Regions from separate parts of the Homo sapiens genome. Here region 2 is linked to region 1. Evidence: promoter capture Hi-C in 16 types of primary human blood cells and fetal thymus (Javierre and others, 2016). All regions are on one chromosome and are shown on one strand. Each heading gives the region's core, a stretch centred on a gene start or on the middle of the fragment in contact. The rest is flanking DNA. Distances are from core to core; before and after follow the strand shown. Region 1 holds the start of GTF3C5 (general transcription factor IIIC subunit 5). Region 2 holds the start of TTF1 (transcription termination factor 1).

The links. The method cuts DNA at HindIII sites, captures the fragments that hold promoters and counts their contacts. A CHiCAGO score of 5 or more calls a contact.
Region 2: a contact is called between a fragment that was not itself captured here and the fragment with the promoter of GTF3C5 in region 1, in 1 of 17 cell types (fetal thymus). The highest score is 5.5, in fetal thymus.

The regions. Positions count from the first base shown.
Region 1 is chr9:133,025,450-133,032,279 of GRCh38, reverse strand. It overlaps GTF3C5 (general transcription factor IIIC subunit 5), which reads right to left and starts at 1,283. Exons shown (of 11, transcript NM_012087.4): 1 at 1,116-1,283. The coding sequence starts at 1,268. LOC105376306 (a long non-coding RNA gene) reads left to right here and starts at 1,858. Exons shown (of 2, transcript NR_135119.1): 1 at 1,858-2,130; 2 at 3,849-4,128. RefSeq lists enhancers at 1,263-1,522, 967-1,618, 1,853-2,102. The HindIII fragment of the contact is 8,183 bases long and covers 1-3,763 here.
Region 2 is chr9:132,404,751-132,410,942 of GRCh38, reverse strand. It overlaps TTF1 (transcription termination factor 1), which reads left to right and starts at 4,103. Exons shown (of 11, transcript NM_007344.4): 1 at 4,103-4,153. CFAP77 (cilia and flagella associated protein 77) reads right to left here and starts at 732. Exons shown (of 6, transcript NM_001282957.2): 1 at 477-732. The coding sequence starts at 671. It overlaps LOC105376304 (a long non-coding RNA gene), which reads right to left and starts at 302. Exons shown (of 3, transcript XR_930405.2): 1 at 1-302. The HindIII fragment of the contact is 770 bases long and covers 2,663-3,432 here.

The sequences.
Region 1 (6,830 bases), core at 34-2,533:
GACAGGACACAAAAACAGGGACTGACTGCCTTAGGGATAAAAACCCATTCCAGGCTGGGCACGGTGGCTCACGCCTATAATCCCAGCACTTTGGGAGGCCAAGACGGGTGGATCACCTGAGCTCAGGAGTTCAAGACCAGCCTATAGGACACAGTAAATTCCACTTCAAAGATTTTAGCCTTTTACCTTCCTTTAAATTCAAGAGGGGGAAAATTAATAAATACAATGAGTTATGAGTTCCATTTCAAAGAACCAATATGTCAGTATGTTCAGCTTCCCTGTTCTTTGTTCTCCATTTTAAAGTTTAACCCCTCGTTCTTTACGCCTCCTTGCCCCTAGTTTCAGTAAACAACCCCTTCCTAGCTTCTATCACCTGCTCTGTCCTTAGTCATCCTGAGTCACCTGCTCTGTAACCATCCTTCCCACCAAAACTACTCACCCCGCCACTCAGGCCTGTGCCCCTGCCCTCTTTGAAATAACCAATCGGAATTAGCTTAGACTGTGCGGTCCAACCCTAGCCAATATGGGAAAGACACAGCAGTAGAGACTAGCTGTGTAAGAGATAGGAACCCCTTCCCCTTCCTTGTCGGTGTGCTCTCGCCATTGCTCCATCCGCAAGATGCACCCTTCTATAGAAGGAAATTTGCCTTGCTGAGAAAACTGTTTGCCAGAGTGCTGATTCTTCTTTGCGGCACCCAAAATTTATTTCCAACAAGCCTGACCAACATGGTGAAACCCCCTCTCTACTAAAAAATACAAATTTAGCCGGGCGTGGTGGCATGCGCCTGTAATCCCAGCTACTCTGGAGGCTGAGGCAGGAGAATCGCTTGAACCCTGGAGGCGGAGGTTGCAGTGAGCCAAAATCGCACCACCGCACACCAGCCTGGGAAACAAGAGCGAAACTCCGCCTGAAAAACCAACAAAAAAACAAAAACAAAAACAAAAATCCTTCCCTTCTTTGTTCTGTTGGCTCTCTTGCAGCGGCCAGAAGAGCGAGCAGCACCCTTCTGCGTAAGTAAATTTGCTAAATTTCCCTTGCTGAGAAATCCTTTGAGTGCTCGTTTTCTTTGCGACTCCGAGCTCTTATTCCAACACCGAGATTCCCAGCCCCTTACCCGGGAGACGCCTTCCTCGCCGCCCAGAGTCGGCAGCATCTTAGCCACATCACGCACCACTCCCGGGTACTCCACGCACACCATGCGTCGCTCCCGCCTCAGCTCCACGGGGACGGCGGCCCCCAGCCCCAAATCGGCCGCCTCCGCCGCCATCCCTGTGCGTCTGGCAGGGCCCGCCAGGGTCCGTCCCACAAAGTACTCCCAAAGGCCTCGCCTCAATTGTTCCGCGAAGGAATCGTTCCGGGCTCCCTCACCGCTCGCGTCATCCTAACTCCCCGGGCTCAGCAAGACGCGAGGGCCTCCAGGGAGCAAATGGCCCATGGGAGGGCCCATGTCTTCGGGAAAACGACCGCCGTGTCCTCGACTTTTTATTTAAAATTAAGCGAGTTAGTCCACCGGGCGGGGCAAGCACCAGTCTCTCCTACTAGCCAGCGAGGGACCCGGAGGATAATAAGACACAAACCTCCCTCGACTTCAGCCAATGAGAATCCGAGGGCCGAGCGAGTTTTTTTTTGAGCCAATGAGAAGTCCGGAGGAAGCTAGGTCCCACCTTCTCCTCCAGCTTCGTACGTTTTAACCAATAAAGAACTAGAGTTAACCACGTCCCAGCCCTCTTCTGGGTATTCCACCCAATGACACCTCGGGGGCGGGCCAGAGGCAGACTTCCGGCCCGCCTGCTTGGTGGGGAAAAGGTCCCGGCTGAGAATTGATTTCCGCATTGGGTCGGCCTGGTATTCTGTCGGTGTTGGCGCTTCTTCTCCCAAGCTCTTGCAGCCCCCTCGGGACTAGGTTTCCAACGGCGCTTGCGGGGGGCCTCGCGGAGGTGGATGTGGAAAAGGCGAGCGCGGGGGAACTGTGCTGTAACCATCGCCCCGCCTCCACAGAAAGCCCCGAAGCGCCGGCTCGGGGCCGAACGCGGGCATCCGGCGTTCGTCTGTTAGGCAGGCAGACATTAAGCGCCTACTGTGTGCTGGGCCCTACTCAAGACCCAGGCGGGGAGAACGGCGTCTGTCCGGTAGGCGCCCAGGGCTGCTGCAAAGCCCCGGAGCGAGGAGTGTGGCCCCTCAAACAGGGAGGAGATGAGGTCCGAGGCCGACCGAGGTCAGAGACCCGCACCCACGAAAAGGGTCCACCCGTCGGGCTGGCTGCTTCCCAGTGCCGTGGAGAGCCCCTGAAGGTTTCTTTTTTTGAGAAGGAATCTCGCTGTGTCGCCCAGGCTAGAATGCAGTGGCGCTTTCTCGGCTCACTGCAACCTCCGCCTCGGGTTCAAGCTATTCTCGTGCCTCAGCCTCCCGAATAGCTGGGATTACAGGCGCCTGCCACCATGCCCGGTTAATTTTTGTATTTTTAGTAGAGACGAGGTTTCACCATGTTGGCCAGGCTGGTCTTGAACTCTTGACCTCAAATGATCCGCCTGCTTCGGCCTCCCCAAGTCCTGGGATTACAGGCGTGAGCCACCGCGCCTGGCCCCTTGAAGGGTTTTATGCGGAGCAGTGATCCCATTCATGCATTTGAAAGACCTCTCTGGCTGTTGTGTGGAGAACAGATCAAAGGGGGAGAAAGTGAGTTCAGATAAACCAGCTCCGAGACTGCATAATCCAGTCAAGAGATGAAGGGACTGGGTTTGAGAATATTGGGAGATGAGAATCATGGCCCAGCACAGTGGCTCACGCCTGTAATCCCAGCACTTTGGGAGGCTGAGGCGGGAGGATCAGTTGAGCCCAGCAGTTGGAGGCCAGCCTGGGCAACAGGGGAAGACCCCATTTCTACCAAAAAATACAAAATTAGCCGGCCATGGTGGTGCATGCCACAGTAGTCCCAACTACTCAAAAGGCTGAGGCAGGAGGATCCTTTGAGCCCTGGAGTTGGAGGCTGCAGTGAGCTATGATCATGCCACTTGCATTACAGCTAGAAATTAGTAAGAGCAAGTGACCCCTTGGGTATGGGTACCCCGTTTCTGAAGTGATTTTTTTTTTTGAAAGACACGATCTCCCTCTGTCACCCAGGCTGGAGTGTAGTGGTGTGATCATGGCTCACTGCAGCCCCGAACTCCTGGGCTCAAGTGATCCTCCTGCCTCAGCCTCCTGAGTAGTTGGGACTACAGGCGTGCACCACCATACCCGACTAATTTTGTATTTGTGTGTGTGTGGCGACGGGGTCTCACTATGTTGCCTAAAGTCATTTCTTTTTGTTGTTTGTTTGTTTTGAGACAGAGCCTCACTCTGTCACCAGGCTGGAATGCAGTAGCACAATCTCGGCTCACTGCAACCTCCGACTCCCTGGTATAAGCGATTCTCCTGCCTCAAACTCCCGGGTAGCTGGGATTATAGGCATGCGCCACCACGCCCAGCTAATTTTTGTATTTTTAGTAGAGATGGGGTTTCACCATGTTGGCCAGGATGGTCTCGATCTCCTGACATCATGATCTGCCCACCTCGGCCTCCCAAAATGCTGAGATTACAGGCGTGAGCCACCGTGCCCAGCCTGTGATTTCTTAATCAGAAGAGTACCTGATTGCTCTCCTTGGGTTTAAGAAGGCAGAATAAATAGCTACATGAATTCAGCCCACTGAATACATTCTAAAGTGTAACCTCAATGTGAAATATATTGTATTGTAATTGGAAGGCTGGGTCAGGAGCCCCAAAGCTTTGAAAGAACACCTCCTGAGAGTACAGTGGGAAATCAACCACCAGCAGATGATGGTTGAGCTAGAAGAACCACGTGTTTCCACAGGGAGCTGCACACGAGGACCCGGTGGTCCCTGACCTGCCCTCTCCAGGGGGGACCTGCACTTTCTGCCACCAAAGAGGATTCTCTGTAGGGAGGCCAGGATGATTCTCCAGAATTTACCATGCCTTGAGATGAAATTTCCTTTCAAACTTCCTTGTGTCCTTTTGTCCTCATTCCATGTTCACCAGTCTTCTGACTGTTTCATTTTCCAGAAAGGAGAAACTGAATAACATGTATATTTTAACCTTGCCTGCAATTGTAAATCAATAAATTGGTGTATTTACATCAGATCCCTGTGAGTTTGGTGCACATAAGACAGTCATGAAGACTTGGTCACTGTTGGTAGAGTTGGCCAATAAAATATTGAACACAGTTAAATTTGAATTCATGCAATATTTGGGGCATATTTATACTAAATATGTGTTATCTGAGATTCATATTTAGCTAGGTGATTTTTTAATTTGCTAAATATGGCACTCCCACCTCCGGGTATTGAGATTGAGTTTCTGAATTTGGAAAGCTGATTCCAAACCACCTGGAACCTTAGTGAGCCCACCATGCAATCCAGTGACCCTCTAGTTTGTCTGCTGTATTTTTCCTCCTTACTGAAGCAAGAGTGATCTTTCCAGAATGAGATCGCAGTCTGTCCCTGCCTCCAGTGACTCCCCAGCATCCCTGGCCCACCACCTGGCTAACTACTCCTCTCCTTTAGGTTGTTGCCTTAGACTTCAATTTGCCTGGTAAATCCTCCCTGACCCCAAAACACTAGTTTGGTGCCATCCTCGCTGCCCGGGGCCCCAAACCCACTGCATCATGGAGCCGGAAGCACTATTATTTTTTTTCTTTTTTACTTCTCCACTTGAGTGGCAACTTTCTGAAGACAGGGACCATGTCTGTCTTATTCACCACTGTCTTCCCACTGTCACCACTGCTTTGCATGGGGCTGAGCACCGAGCAGGTGCTCAGGAAGTATTTATTGAACAACTGAATGAGGCCACTTGTCTTATTTGAGCCTTCAATCGAGCCCCGGGTCAGGGCATGGTCATAGGGACACTAAATCAAGGCTTGTCAGACAAGGAGTGTCCCTTAGTGCACAGGAAGTGAGGAGGGGCTGAGTGTGAGGGGAAGACAAGGGACCAACCCCAGGGCATCAGACCAAGCTTTTTGAGATTAGACTTGGTCCTGCCTGAGATCCAAAGCGGGAGGTCAGAGGCAGGAGCAGTAAGGCAAGGCTGGGAGCAGAGACAGGCCAAGAAAGATCAGGAACCCAGTTAAAAAGTAGCTTTGGCTGGGAGCGGTGGCTCATGCCTGTAATCCCAGCACTTTGGGAGGCTAAGGCGGGTGGATCACTTGAGGTCAGGAGTTCGAGACCAGCCTGGCCAACATAGTGAAACCCCATCTCTACTAAAAATACAAAAATTAGCCACATGTGGTAGCACATGCCTGTAATCTCAGCTACTCGGGAGGCTGAGGCAGGAGTCTCGCTTGATCCCAGGAGGCAGAGGTTGCAGTGTGCAGAGATCATGCCACTGCACTCCAGCCTGAGTGACAGAGTGAGACTCCATCTCAAAAAAAAAAAAAAAAAAAAAAAAAGAAGTAGCTTTAACGTTCTCCAAAACCTTGCAGCATTCAGAGCAGGCAGCTGTGACAATATTTGTGCACTGAGGGGACACTTTCTCTGCCTGGATTCAGGGCATATGCTATGGTTTGAAAATGTCCCCCAAATTTCATGTGTTGGAAACTTAATTTGTCTGCCCTCATGAATAAATTAATGTTGGCTCTGCCCTCATGCATGGATTAATGTCGCTGTTGTGGGAGTGAGTTGCTTATCTCTTTGTTATAGAGGCAAGCTCTCTCCGGCTCTCTCTCTCCTGCCCTCTTGCATATGTGCCCTCCACCATGTTATGGCACAGCAAGAATGCAAAGACCCTTAGCAGATGCTGCCACCGTGTCCTTGAACTTCTCAGCTTCCAGAACTACAAGAAACAAATGTTTTTCCTGTAGGAATTACCCAGTCTGGGATATTCTGTTATAACAGCAGAAAACAGACTAACGCAGCATGCTTCTCGCATCTTGCCCTGCTGTGGGGTGGCAGATTTCATCCCACTGGACAGAAGGGCACTACAGCTCTAGCCACCTCCTATGGGCGGATTGGGCACACTGGGGGTGGGGGGCAGCCTCTATGTGCCACTTCCACACGGGAGAGATTCGGAGCTCCTGAAGGACGCTTGGGTGCTGCAACCAGCGTTTGTTGCTCAGGGAAAGGGTGGATGTAGGGACCAGCCCTACAGGGTCTGTGGGTTTTTCTCCCCTTGTGCGGAGACGAGAGATCGTAGAAATAAAGACACAAGACAGAGAGATAAAAGAAAAGACAGCTGGGCCTGGGGGACCACTACCACTGAGACGTGGAGACTGGTAGTGGCCCCGAATGCCAGCCTGTGCTGTTATTTATTGGATACAAGACAAGCGGGCAGGGTAAGGAGTGTGAGCCACCTCCAATGATAGGTAAGGTAACGTGGGTCACGTGTCCACTGGACAGGGGGCCCTTCCCTATTTGGCAGCCAAGGTGGAGAGAAAGAGAGGGAGGAGACAGCTTACACCATTATTTCTGCATATCAGAGACTTTTAGTGCTTTCACTAATTTTGCTACTGCTATCTAGAAGGCAGAGCCAGGTGTACAGGATGGAACATGAAAGCGGACCAGGAGCATGACCGCTGAAGCACAGCATCACAGGGAGACGGTTAGGCCTCCGGATAACTGTGGGCGGGTCAGGCCCTCAACAAGAGGTGGTGGAGTAGAGTCTTCTCTAAACTCCCCCAGGGAAAGGGAGACTCCCTTTCCCGGTCTGCTAAGTAGCCGGTGCTTTTCCTTGGCACTGATGCTACTGCTAGAACACGGTCCGCTTGGCTACGGGCGTCTTCCCAGACGCTGGCATTACCGCTAGACCAAGGAGCCCTCTGGTGGCCCTGTCTGGGTGTGACAGA
Region 2 (6,192 bases), core at 1,798-4,297, 620 kb after region 1:
ATGCTTCCAGGACAGACACGGAGCCACCGCTGCATAGACGTACCCCAGGCGTGCAGCGGAACCGGAGAGGCGGCCTTTACCCTGGGAGGGCTGGCAGCCACGACTTAGACTGGGCGTGTGCGACCTATCTGTCACCCTGTGGGTTCACTCTGTGGGAAACCACAGCAGCACCCATTGCAGCCTTACCCCATGTCAGGCGCTGTCCCGAGGTCCCGCAGAAATTACCCTATTCAATCTTCCCAATCAGTCCCTTTAGTGGTGCCATTATCATCCCACTGTGAGGATGGGGAAACCGAGGCTGAGAGAGGCGACGCGACCTGCATGGGGGTCCAGGCCTGTCTGGACCAGAGCTGGAGCTTCCCACGCTGCGCTCGGACCCCGGGCCGCGGGGCCAGGGCGCTGCGGGTGGGGACCCCCGGCGGCGCAGGTGCCCGGAGCCGGCGACAGCGAAAGCGCGGTGGGCGTGGGGTGCTCACCTTGACGATGAGAGGGTTCTGAAACATGGAGTCCCGCACGACCCCCAGCCGCTCGTTCTCCATGCCGGAACGGATGTCCGCCACGGTCAGGGGCCGCCGCGGGGGCGGGCAGACCTGGCTGACCGTGCGGCGCACAGGCTGCTGCTGCTTCCTCCATCGCGTGAGGTCCGGGCCGGAGCTCCTGGCCTCTGGCATCCTTGAGGTCGCCGGGGAGCCGGCCCGCGGGCTGGTTTGGGCGCGCTTCCCCACGTCGGGCACAGCCTGGAGCTCCGAAGGGCCTGCCGGGCGGCCCGGGCCGCACCACCGGGATCCTGAGGGGGAAACTCAGATGCCAGGACCCCTCCGGAGCCAGGCGCGCCCCGCTCGCGCCGGCCCCTCATCGCAAAGAGCCCCGGAGCAATGCAGGAGCCCCGCGGGATCCTCAGGGCGTCTCCTGGGCCCCGCGTTGCAGACTGGGAGAGGAAAGAAAACCAAGACCACCCCTGGAGGACGAATGCAACGGCCCGTCTCCTTGGCGACGGGACGCCAACAGAGCCCGGCTCGGCTTGTACTTTTCTTTCAAGAAACTCTTGGTGGCTACCAGTGTGGACTTGTTTGGAGTTTTCCTGAATCGATACAGGAGAACCGAGAATCTCCAGTGGGTTGCGTTCAAAGCGGCGTGGCTCATAGAGGGTCATTTACATTTGTCTTCCAAGTCGAAGACTCCATCCTCTGCTCACCCCCATTCCACTCACAACCCCTCCCCACCTCTGCTCTTTGCGCCACACACACACCTGAGACAGAGCACTAAATGCATTCCAAGCCTGATGCTGATGCTGACCCACTGGGAGGACTCGGGCAAGTCACCCTCTTGGATCCTAAGGGCTTTTTTTCTTTTTTTCCTGTGAGATGGGTGACAAGGAAACGCTAGAGTTGGATTACATCAATGGTTCCCAAATTTAAGCAACAGAATGAAGGGAAATTGAAAAATACAGATTTGGGCTGGGCTTGGCTGCTCACCCATGTAATCCCATTGCTTTGGGAAGCCTAGGAGGGAGGATGGCCTGAGCCCAGGAGTTTGAGACCAGCATGGGCAACATGGTGAGGTCTCATCTCTACCAAAAATTAAAAAAATTACCCAGGTGTGCTGGCACACACCTGTGGTCCCAGCTATGGGGGAGGCTGAGGCAGGAGGATCACTTGAGGAGGTTGAGACTACAATGAGCCGTGTTTCGGCAACTACATTCCAGTCTGGATGACAGAATGAGACCATGTGCCAAAAAAAGAAAAACGAAGATTCACAGGACTCACCCCAGACTCACTAAATCAGAATATCTGGAAATGGCATCTGAGGCTCTCCTTTTTTTTTTTTTTTTAAGAGACGGAGTCTTGCTCTGATAATGACATGAGCCACCTCACCAGGCCAGATGCTGCATTTTTAAAAATCCCCTTACCCACCCACCCACAACTTGGTGAAAAAGTTCAAACCTACAGAAAAGTTGAAAGTCGAAAGAAGAATACAATGAAAATACATATAGGCTTCACCTAGATTCGGTTAGATTTTGAAGGGAAGGGGAGGGTTAAAGAAAGAGTGGCGGCTCTACAGCAAATTCAGGCTTTATGTCCAGCATGAGACCTACAGAGGTGGGAGACCAGCTTAATGCCAGTGCCTACCGCTGCTTACAGGCTGGAGAAATTATAGGCCTGGGCGGGGAGGGGCCCGGTGGGTATGGCCTGCTGCCCGGGAAGATGTTGATAAGGTATTCCCATGATGAGGCAGTTTGGCCCTTGTTCTGGTGGAACGTGATGTTCCTGTCACTTTCTCCCAGCAGAATATGATAAGAGGCAGGCTGTTTCTCACTGCCTGAACCCCCGTGGAATGTTTCACTTTAAGCAAGGTCTGCAAAATGGCAGGGGGCTTACAAAATGGTGCAGTTTGGACTAACAGATTCACCCGTCCCCAGCACTGGTCACATTTTCTTGCTCTCTCTCTGTGAGCATGCACATACACACATTACAGAATCACCTGAAAAATATCTGTCAACACCATATTTAACCCTAAGTACGTCATCATGTAGCAAGGACATTCCCATGTGTAACTACAATGTCATTATCATGTCCGAAGATTTTAATGTGATACAATAGTGTTTAATATAAAATCCATTGCAAAGTTGAGACTCTGCATTTGAAAAAAAAAAAAAAAAGCTTCCCAGGTGATTGGTGCAGTTGGAGGAGGATTGGAAACCACTATTGGAGTTTTCCTGAATCGATACTGGATGATATCTAATCTCTCCTCTAGTGCCAGCCTTTTGTGGGTTCATTCATGCATCACTAGCACCACAAGGCTCTGGGTAAGTGGGGTCACCACAGAACACGTGACACCAATGACGGACCTGGACTTCAAGGCCTTCCATATCAACAGTGGACAACACCACATTTACAGACTTCTCCAGACGGAGCTCCAACTGCACGTCCACATCCCAGAGCAGCCCTTGCATGGCAACATGAGTACATACATAGGCTCATCGTTTCTCCAACCTGCTTCCCTTCCAGACTTTCACGGAAGCATAGTTTGTGCATTTTTTAATCAAAGCCACTTGGCAGATCACATAGAAGTCAGGTGGAACAGTGAGGGGCAAGATAGTGGAGTAGTAGAAAGAGCATAGGTCTGATTTCTGGCTGGCCCATTTAAGTCACCTTGGACAAGTTACTGTAAACCCAGGTTTCTCATCCACAAGGTGGGGCTAATAATACCTCATTACAAGGATTAAGTGAGAAAACTTGTTGCCTATATCGTATATGTTCACTATCCAAAAAGGTTAAACGTTTGGTTGGTAAATATAATGGCCTCGAATTGATGGCCAGGTTAAAGCTGCCCTTTTGGCTAAGTCTCTTCAGGACTCTGTTGAAATGGGAAGACTGGGATAGATCTCCAAAGCTCCTGCTAACTCTAAACTTCTGAGACTTCATCCAAGCTTAACATCCATCAGCCTCTGCACCAGATAGCCCCTGCAGACCTCTGACTTCCTCTCCCACCCCCTCCCCTGCATTCACATGCATTCACTTAGGCTGGGCGTGTGCGACCTGTCTGTCACCCTGTGGGTTCACTGTGTGGATTCACTCTGTGCTCCAGCTGCTCTGGCCTTGTCCCAGGTCCTCCAGCAACCAAGTTCAGGACTTTTGCACTCACTTCCAGCCTGGAACACTCTTCTGCCTAGATTTTTTGCCTGCCCTTTCCATTTAGAACTCAGTTCAAATGTCACCTCCTCAGTGAGCCCTCTCTTACATCTAAAGTAGCACCCACCGTCCCCTAGTCACTCTCCATCACGTCACCCTGTTTTATTTTCCTTACAAGATAATCTGAAATTATCTTAGTTGATTTGTCATCTGTCTTCCCAAGTTGTTCCTGGAGTTCACCAAAAACTGGAATAAATGGAATGCACGCATGCATTAGTACGTCAATGGAGGGGGATTCTGTCCTACTTTCTTCGTTTCAGGAGCACTCTCTACCCCACCTGACGTCTAAAGGACCCAGAAGGAAAATGGGTAGGCAAATGTGCGCGCCTCCAAGGCCTAGCGGCAGCCGTGTTACCATGGCAGCGTGACGCCGAGGGGGCCGGAAGGCGACGCACTACTACTTCCGCTTCCTCAACAGCAGCACTTCCGGGTTGGGAGAAAGGTGGCGGCGCTTTCGGAGGGTAAGTTGAAAGCGCCTTTGTTGTTTCTGTTTTTCAAAATGCGCGCGTAAAAACTCAGCGTGGGGTGGTGGGTTTCCCCGTCTTCTGGGAGACCCGCCTTTTGGCCTGAGGTCTCCAGGCCGCGGTCTTTGCCCCAGGCCTTATCTCGGGGAAACTGAGGCTTGGGTGTTTTTTTTTTTTTTTTTTAAAGATGGAGTTTTGCTCTTGTCGCCCAGGCTGGAGTGCGGTGGCGCGATCTCGGCTCACTGCAACCTCCGCTTCCTGGGTTCAAGCGATTCTCCTGCCTCAGCCTCCCGAGTAGCTGGGATTATAGGCGCCCGCCACCAAGCCTAGCTAATTTTTGTATTTTTAGTAGAGACAGGGTTTCACCATGTTGGCCAGGCTGGTCTCGAACTCCTGACTTCAGGTGATCCACCCGCCTCGGCCTCTCAAAGTGCTGGGATGACAAGCGTGAGCCACCGCGCCCGGCCGCGGCTTGGGTCTTTGGGAGTGAGAAGATGCAGAATTCACATCTGGTTAGTTCCTCCAGTCTCAGCCCTGGAGCGCCCACCCGGGAGCAGAGCGGGGTCTCTCTCGCACCCCAAAGGCGGTGAGAGAATCCGGGACCAGGTTTGGGCACGTACCTGCAGAGCGGGAAGTGTATGTTCTGAGTAAGGGGGGATAAATGCATATCCGTTCTCAATATGTATCGAGCACTGACTGGGGAGCCATTTGGGAGCAAGATGGCCAGGATTCCAGCCCTCAAGAAGCCGATCATATTATAACTGCCAAAAGTGCAATGGGGAGCAGCTGGTTGTTGGGAAACACTGTTAACCAGAAAGATGAGACCGGCTAAGGAGTTAGAGAGGTCCTCTTGAGAAAGTGGCTTTCATACTTGGACCAGTTAAAGGGCAGAAAGGTAATGCGGAGGAAGAGCTTTCCTGATGGAATGGGCTGTTTTTGCAAAGTTCCTGAGACGAAAAGGAAGGTAGTGTATTCTAGGAACTGAAAACAGCAGGGTTTCTGAAACCTAGAGAGAAGTGAGAGGTAGAGAGGTGGGCATGGACTTACCTCTGTCCATCTCTAGGCTAGATTATGAAGAAATGAAGACTCTTGCAGGTCTGTGAGGATTTTGACTTTATCTTAAGAATAACAGGGGAACCCTAAAAAGTTTTTAGCAGGGAGAGACTATATATTTAGAAGGTTGTACTGGGCTCCAGAGACCAGAGAGCAGCCTAGGAAGTATTTACAAAAAAGAAGGAAAGGAACTGATGGAAGGGGAAATGTTATTTAAAGAAATCAAGGCCGGGCGCTGTGGCTTACGCCTGTAATCCCAGCGCTTTGAGAGGCCGAGGCAGGTGGGTCACCTGAGGTCAGGAGTTCAAGACCAGCCTGGCCAACATGGCGAAACCCCGTCTCTACTAAAAATACAAAGATTAGCCAGGCTTGGTGGCTTGCGCCTGTAATCCCAGCTACTACTCCGGAGGCTGAGGCAGGAGAATCGCTTGAACCCGGGAGGCGGAGGTTGCAGTGAGCCGAGATCGTGCCACTGCACTCCAGCCTGGGTGACAGAACGAGATTCTGTCTCCAAAAAAAGAAAAAGAAAAAAAGAAAAGAAAAGAAATCAGCCAGTGGGTGGCTCACGCCTGTAATCCCAGCACTTTGGGAGGCCGAGGCGGTTGGATCACAAGGTCAGGAGATCGAGACCATCCTGGCTAACACGGTGAAACTCCGTCTCTACTAAAAAATACAAAAAAATTAGCCTGGCGTCGTGGCGGGCACCTGTAGTCCCAGCTACTCGGGAGGCTGAGGCAGGAGAATGGCGTGAACCCGGGAGGCAGAGCTTGCAGTGAGCTGAGATCACGCCACTGCACTCCAGCCTGGGCGACAGAGCAAGACTCCGTCTCAAAAAAAAAAGAAAAAAAAGAAATAATCGGCTTTGCTCTGTTTGTGATTTATTAAGAGGTCCTAAAAGATGGGCCTGAAAAGTGTCTGTTGAAATTTGTGGCTTTAAGAACAAAGGCACTCTTGCTGGAACGGTCTCAGTGGAGTAGTGGGGT